Regions from separate parts of the Homo sapiens genome. Here region 2 is linked to region 1. Evidence: promoter capture Hi-C in 16 types of primary human blood cells and fetal thymus (Javierre and others, 2016). All regions are on one chromosome and are shown on one strand. Each heading gives the region's core, a stretch centred on a gene start or on the middle of the fragment in contact. The rest is flanking DNA. Distances are from core to core; before and after follow the strand shown. Region 1 holds the start of WNT6 (Wnt family member 6). Region 2 overlaps NHEJ1 (non-homologous end joining factor 1).

Evidence for each region. Contacts are between HindIII fragments. The CHiCAGO score rates a contact against its expected background, and 5 or more counts as called.
Region 2: a contact is called between a fragment that was not itself captured here and the fragment with the promoter of WNT6 in region 1, in 1 of 17 cell types (naive B cells). The highest score is 5.1, in naive B cells.

Annotation. Positions count from the first base shown.
Region 1 is chr2:218,857,821-218,861,294 of GRCh38, forward strand. It overlaps WNT6 (Wnt family member 6), which reads left to right and starts at 1,985. Exons shown (of 4, transcript NM_006522.4): 1 at 1,985-2,297. The coding sequence starts at 2,218. The HindIII fragment of the contact is 26,174 bases long and covers 1-3,474 here.
Region 2 is chr2:219,106,166-219,109,673 of GRCh38, forward strand. All of the region lies in intron 5 of NHEJ1 (non-homologous end joining factor 1), which reads right to left. Among named protein-coding and RNA genes, the nearest start is that of IHH, 47 kb to the left of the region's middle. The HindIII fragment of the contact is 1,789 bases long and covers 915-2,703 here.

The sequences.
Region 1 (3,474 bases), core at 735-3,234:
AATGCAGGATAGGGAGAGCATTTCATAATCTGCAATAACAGTAGCAGGGTGGGAGCAGGGCTGGGCAGGGGGTTCGGAACCCAGACAGTGGCTCCCAGGAGGCTGGCCACTGGCCACCTGTAGCCTCCAGGGACCCCCAGAGCCCTCTAGCTGCCTATTTGGTACCACATGGCTGGAGTGTGCACCCAAACTGGGTATGTCTTTGAATGTGTAGTGTCCAGAGTTGGCATTGACCTTTAGGAACTGTCCAGATTGGCATTGCCCCGTAGAAACAGCAACTGTGTGCAAAGTTACTAGGTGCAGGGGCTGTGCGTGGCCTTTGGATACTGTTAAAGGCTAAAATGGGAGAGGGCAGTGCTTAGACCAGACCCTCTCTCTATGACTCTTGCCACTGCCCCCTGCCCCCTTCCCCTTCTTTAGTGTGTCCTAGCCCTTTCACCAGAACTCTCTGTATCCAGTGCAAGGGATTGAGCTGATGCAGCCTGGACACCAGGGCCCTGACATGGAGCTTGCTTGCCGGCAAGTCCACACTTCTCCAGTTCTCTCACCTCTGTCTGCTCATTCCTTCCCCCATCAGCCTCCTCCCCTGGGGTCACATCCCTTGGCCCCTTGGCCTCATCTTGATCTACTTGTCCCCCCTCTCTGGGTGACTCAGGATCTTGTCTTCTCTCTCTGCTCACCAAGGTTGTTTGGAAGTGACCTCAGTCATCACTCTCTTGGAAGCGACCTCAGTCCCCACATTCAGGTCCCCCTCTCTACCAACAACCAGGAGCTTTCTTCTGGGCGCCTGACGTTTCTGCCATAGGGACTCGATCTGTCCTCCCCACTCCAGGACAGCTTTAAAGGTTGATGGTTGCTCTTGATGGTATGGCAGGGAGAATGTCCCACACCACCTGTCCCTTGGCACCCCGGGGCACGTCGGGGACGGGAGGGGCAGGGGCTGCTGCCCACTGCCAGCCGAATGGCATGATGAATGGAGCTGTCCCTCTTCCCCACGGAGCCTTTGATCTCCCCCTCGTGGGGAGGGGGCCAGGGGCATCAAAGACATTTTTGTGGCATTAGAAAATCTGATAAACGCCATCTCACCTGCAGCTGGCTCTCCCACCCCTTCTACCCGGGCCAGGTTGGGGGAGGAACTCGAGGCAGGGACTCTTGGACACGCGAGGCCGGGCTAAAGCGAATTCTGACCCCTCGATCTCTTGAAAGTCTGCGACCTCCATTCTCCCGCTCGCTTACAAGTGCCAGCGCTTGCGCGCACGCCCTGGAGCGGCTACTCTTGCCCTCTCATTTCCCCCACCTCCCCGCCCTAGAACGCGGGCTTGAGAGGTGGGATGGCTGGGGGAGCGAGAGCGGAGGCCCAGGGCTTCCTCCCTTCTTCAAGGAGAGGCTGACGAAGGGGCATGAGGCATCGAACAGGGACACGGAAAGAGATGACCCCTCCAGCATCCGCCTGTCGGGCGGTCCAGTTTGACAACCCTCGCCGAAGCACCCCGCGCCCCAGGCCAACTTCCTCTCTTGCCTCCGCGCCAGCATCTCCCTCCGCACCGCCCCCCGCCCCAAACTCCCTCATTCCTGGGAAGTTTTCTCTCTTTACAGTCAACAAACCTGTCAAACGTCTCCCTTCCAGCCCGTCCCCCATTCCTCAGCTCCTCTTTCTCCCCCCTCACCCCTCTCTACTCTTCTTCCCAGCCCTTCCTTGCCCCCGACTCCAGGCGGCCGCGAGCGGCGGGGGGCTCCAAGTCCGAGAGAGGCGAGGCGAGGGGGCGAAGCGGGCGGGTCCCACAGCCCGAAGCGCGCTGGGGCCCCGCCCCGGCACCCCGCTCCCGCCCTCCGCTGCGCTCCGCGCCAGCCGCCCCGGGGCGCACGGCTCGCTCCCGAGAGTCCCGCTGCCTGACTGTCGCAACTGCCACCTCCCTCCGGCCCCCTGCCCCCCGCCCCCGCCTCGGCCCCGCTCCCCTCCCACCTCCGCCCCCGGCTCTGATTTCTTCTCCCGAGCGAGCTCCGCAGGAGACACAGGCGCTGGCTGCCCCGTCCGCTCTCCGCCTCCGCCGCGCCCTCCTCGCCCGGGATGGGCCCCCCCGCCGCCGCCGGATCCCTCGCCTCCCGGCCGCCGCCGTTGCGCTCGCCGCGCTCGCACTGAAGCCCGGGCCCTCGCGCGCCGCGGTTCGCCCCGCAGCCTCGCCCCCTGCCCACCCGGGCGGCCGTAGGGCGGTCACGATGCTGCCGCCCTTACCCTCCCGCCTCGGGCTGCTGCTGCTGCTGCTCCTGTGCCCGGCGCACGTCGGCGGACTGTGGTGGTGAGTCCGGCTGTCCTGGCGCGGCTCTGGACCCTGGAGGGTGGGGACCCCGGGACCCAGGACAGACTGGGGTGTTCCGCAGCCTCCCGGCTCTACCTGCTCTCCGAGCCCAGCTTTCTGGCCTCGGCCGGGGGCGTTTCTGAACTCCACTTCGACGTTCCTAACCCTCGGGAACATTCTATTGTGTTTCCTCCTCCCGGGTTCTCTCCCACCCCCCGCCAAGTTATGCGCTCACCCAGCTCACCAAGGAACAGGCGAGTGGGTAGGAAAGATCTTTCGGGAAGACACATATCCGAGGAAAAGAATGTGTGAGGAGGGCCCTGGATTCAGGGTATGGGGCTGGATTTGGAGAAGACAGGAACAAGGTGGGAAGCCACAAGGCAGAGAGGGCCACACAGCTGCCCCTTCCCCGCCCTGCTTTGCCTACCAACCCACCGGCTTCTCTCTGGGCTCCTGAGGAGTGGGCCTTAGTGACGACAGAGGGAATATAAAGGGGAAAGTGAGTCAGGACCCTGGTTTTCTCTACCTCGTCCTCCCCAAGCAAGGAAAAGGAGGAGCGGAAGGAACCGGACCCAGGCGCCCGGCCCTTCCAGACCTGGGGGTCATGAATGAAAAAATATGTGCAGCCCGGGAGATACGGGACCGGGAGGGGTCCTGCGGGAAGGGAGAGGGGCCTGGCCAGCCAAGGGAAGGGGGCGTCTTCCCAGGCTTGGCCCTAGCTAGAAGGGACACCTAGGCAGCGAAGGTTGCGGGAGCTTCGAGCCTTGGGGGTGGGGGTGGGGCCGGGGCGGGGAAGGAGGGTGCCCGACCGGGACGGCTCAGAGATCCAGATCCAAAGGACTTTTTTCCCCCTAGGTCTCCAGAGCCGCAAACCCTCGCCCGGAATAGCTCAGTGTTTAGAGAGGAGAGACTTGGACAATAACGCTGACGGGTTAGCCAATCCTAAGAAGGCAGGGTCGTGTCTATTTGCATATTGCCATGTGATTGGCTGGATGCCGACCCTCCGCTCCTCCCTCGCCCCCCAGATTTGGAAGAGAGGCAGATCCCCGTGCTCTGGAGAGATAGGGAGTAGGATGCCCACACAGGGAGTGGCGGGCAGCAATCCCTACTCCGTGATGCGGAGAGCCGTCCGACGCTAGTGTCACGGAAAGGGCGAACCGAGGACGACCCAGGTCCT
Region 2 (3,508 bases), core at 559-3,058, 250 kb after region 1:
TGAAGACAGAGAAATGGTCTTTTTCTCTTGGGTCTAAGAAGACCTTGCCTGGCTCCTGCGCCCAATGTCAGGCACCCTGGCACCAAAACTGTAGAGATAAGTTTGAAGAAGTTCCAGGGAGGGTCACATAATTGACTTGGGGTGGGGGAGGAAAGGATAAAAAAGGAGCGATTAGGGGCTCAAGTTAGACAGATGGCCTAAGTGACGTCTGAGACTAGACATGATAACCTTCTGCTAACACTGGGAGAGTGTAAACACCCAAGAGGGGAGGAATTGTTTAGCCTGGTCCAGTGGGCTCAAAGTAGGAGAAAGGATGAGACAAGGGACGGGAGATCAAAGCCCTGTGACAGAAAGCCAAGCAAAAGAGACACTGCTCTCCTTGGACTCAGAGAAAACAAGGCCATATACATTTTCACAGATATCTACAAGTGTTATATCCTCATCTTCAGGCATAAAGGAGGCCTACAACAGATGGATTATTGAAACCTAATACAAAGAGCCTATGCTTGGAACAGAAAGCCCTTTTACCATTATGCAAAATGTAGCGCCATACTCAATGTTATTAAACAGTGCCCAAAAAACCCACAGATTCAGACTGTGCTCATCTTCAAGAGAAGATGAGAAAAGAAAAAGTACAGACAGTCAGCAAAGCAGTGAACTGGAATCCCACAGTTTGGTAAAATGCATGAAATTTCTAACCTGTGTTCTCATTTGCTGTTTTCCATTTTACTCTAACAAAAACACCTCTCAAACTGGCATTTGCTGAAAAAATATTCATTTTTTCCTATTTCCCATTCTACTCCAAGTCGGCCTACCTGCCTTCTAGTACACTTGAGTGGGCTTCAATGGTGCCCACAACATTGATAATGAGTGCTGAGAGAGCGATATAGAAGATATGGTGTCCTGCTTCAACAAGCTTCTAATCTACTTGAAGAGAAAAAAGGTAAGTATGTGAAAACAGCAAGAAAATAACTGCAAAGAAACATATGATATATGCAAGAGAAAGGAGGATAAATGAGCTATATAACTGCTAATGATCTGTCAAATCAGGGGAAGATAACTGAACTGATCATTCAGGGAGGGCTTCCCAGCAGAAGTGAAATTTTCTTCCTGAAGAGGAAAAATAGAAATCGATTGATTGAAACCAATTTATGGTTTACAAAAGCTAGAAGGAACCTCAGGGTGTATCTGATCAAAATTGCTCGTCTGACAGATGAACCCCAGGGAGCATAATAATATGCCCAGGTGACAAATCAAAAAAGTGGAAGAACTGGAATTCAAATCAAAGTATTCTGATTTCAAAACCCAGGGCAGATGACAGGAACAAATGCAGAGAAGCAAGAAACAGCAATGTCTATCAGGAAGAAGGTAAGCAGACTGGCATCGTGGGGACAGAGGAACTGTTTCACAGAGTAAGGAGAAATAAGAAGCCCCAGGCTGCTCCCAAATAATCTTAGTTGCTCCATATGGACCCCACTTCTCTCTCTGTCTTCAGGAACATCCACCATACCTTAAATTAGTGGCATGTGCCCTGCAGGTATTTCCCATACCACATGCCCTGCTCTGGGGCCTAATCTCCCTCTAAGGGCCACAATTCTCACTCCCAGAGTCCATACTGGTTCTAAGGGCTCTAGAAGCTCCAAGATATACATATGGCAAAACTAACCAAGAAGTTACTCCACATACGAACTTCTTGTTCTGCTTACAGCCCCACCCTCCTCCCTTGCCCCACCAACACTAGGAAACCAGATGTACAAATGGTTAACAGAGAAAAAAAAAAAATCCCACCCAGACCACTTGAAACGCGGCTAGTCTGGCTGGGCTTCGAGTCCGCTCAGCGACTGCGCCATGACTGCTATTTATAGCTTCTGGGTGCCCAGCCCAGCTTCCAGGTCACTAATTGTGGCCCAGCCCCGAGCCAACCCCCACACCTCCTCCCCTGCCCTGTAACACAGGGAACAAGAAGAAAATCTAGCTTTGTCCAGCCCAGGAAGAACAGCCAGGAGTGAGATCTGAATCCAAGACCCTGTATTATATGCCTTGTGAACAGTATCAAAACTGTCAGAAGGCTCTGCCCTCCTTCCACACATCTTGAAGAGCTGAGTGTCCGTCCTTCCACAGCAGCCTCCTTTCCTGAATTCTCTAAGTTCATCCAGAGTTGAATCCTGAGTTCAGTCTAATCCATCCAAATGCTAGAGAGTGAAAGATAGGTTTTGGCTATCAAGGACACCAGCCAACAGTTAAGTAAAGAGCCTATGTCTTTGAGCAAGCATCTAAGCACCCTTGGATTCATGTGTTTGCCTTTTCCTAGGGTCTATTTGTTAGATTATCTGTCCATTTATTTGTGTTACTACTCTAGTCATCCACAAAAAAGTACCCAGGCAGGAGGCACGCTCAGAACTAAACTTCTAAAAATTCTTTTCTAGCACTTACCAAATACATTTTAAGTTCCACATATTCTTAGTTTCAGACAGAGGACCTGAATAAGATAGTTTTATGAGAGTGCTATAAATAATCCCTTCTGATTCCAAGATGCTATTATTTGAGTATTATTCTATAATACTGTTTTCCCCCTAGAGATACAGATTACTGAGATGGGCAATGACCCTTTTTTGGCATATGAGGCTTTGTGAAGTTATCCTGGGTGGAAAAAAAAAAAGGTTTTTCTAAGGTATAAGAGTTAATGGCAAAAAGACTCAGTGAAGCTTACTCTGTTAGTTCTATACCTGTGCTACAGTGGGGAAACCACCATGGGCCACATTCCCCTGTGTATTCTACATCTGAACCCTTGTTCCCATCCCAATTAAACTTAACCACTGTCAATGACATCTATATTCAGAACAAAGGATTGGGACTAGAGATGAAAGAAGAGTTAAGAGACTTAGAATAAGAGTGAGATATCTCTTTCTTTTTCCAGTGCCCCAGCACCTAAACTATGGTTACCATTCTCAGACAGAACAACAAGCCCCCAACCCTCTACATCCTTGACTGATGCTGCCTAAGACTACACATCTCAATGCCAGTCTTTTCCTTCTCATTTTGGGGTTCATTTGGGCAACTGGATAATATGCCAGGGATTCTGGTTATTGGAGCCAGAACCAGAATGCTGCTGTGCTATCTCATCATCACTCACAAATACCAATTCCCAGCCCCAAATGGTCCCAAATCTTTCCTCCCAAGACCACAAAGGATAAAAAAAAAGTTTCCAAATTAAAAAACTAAAACTGGCAACAAAGGTGCCCCATGGCAGTAACCTTTAAAACTGGCCATTAAAGTTTATAAGTCAGACGGGCACCAACGTGAAGGATCAAGAAGAGAAAAACAGCCCCCTCCCTTGGGGACCCAGAGCCACAGCCTTCCCCCTAAAGCCACAGAGCTGATGTCACAAGAAGCACTTGCTGCATCAAGGGCTCTCTGTGTCCCAACTACAACCATTCACAATGCAGGCAGACTCTGCGTGCTGGAGGCGGGCTGGTGTCTGGCAGAGAATAAAGGAAAGGGGAGGGGC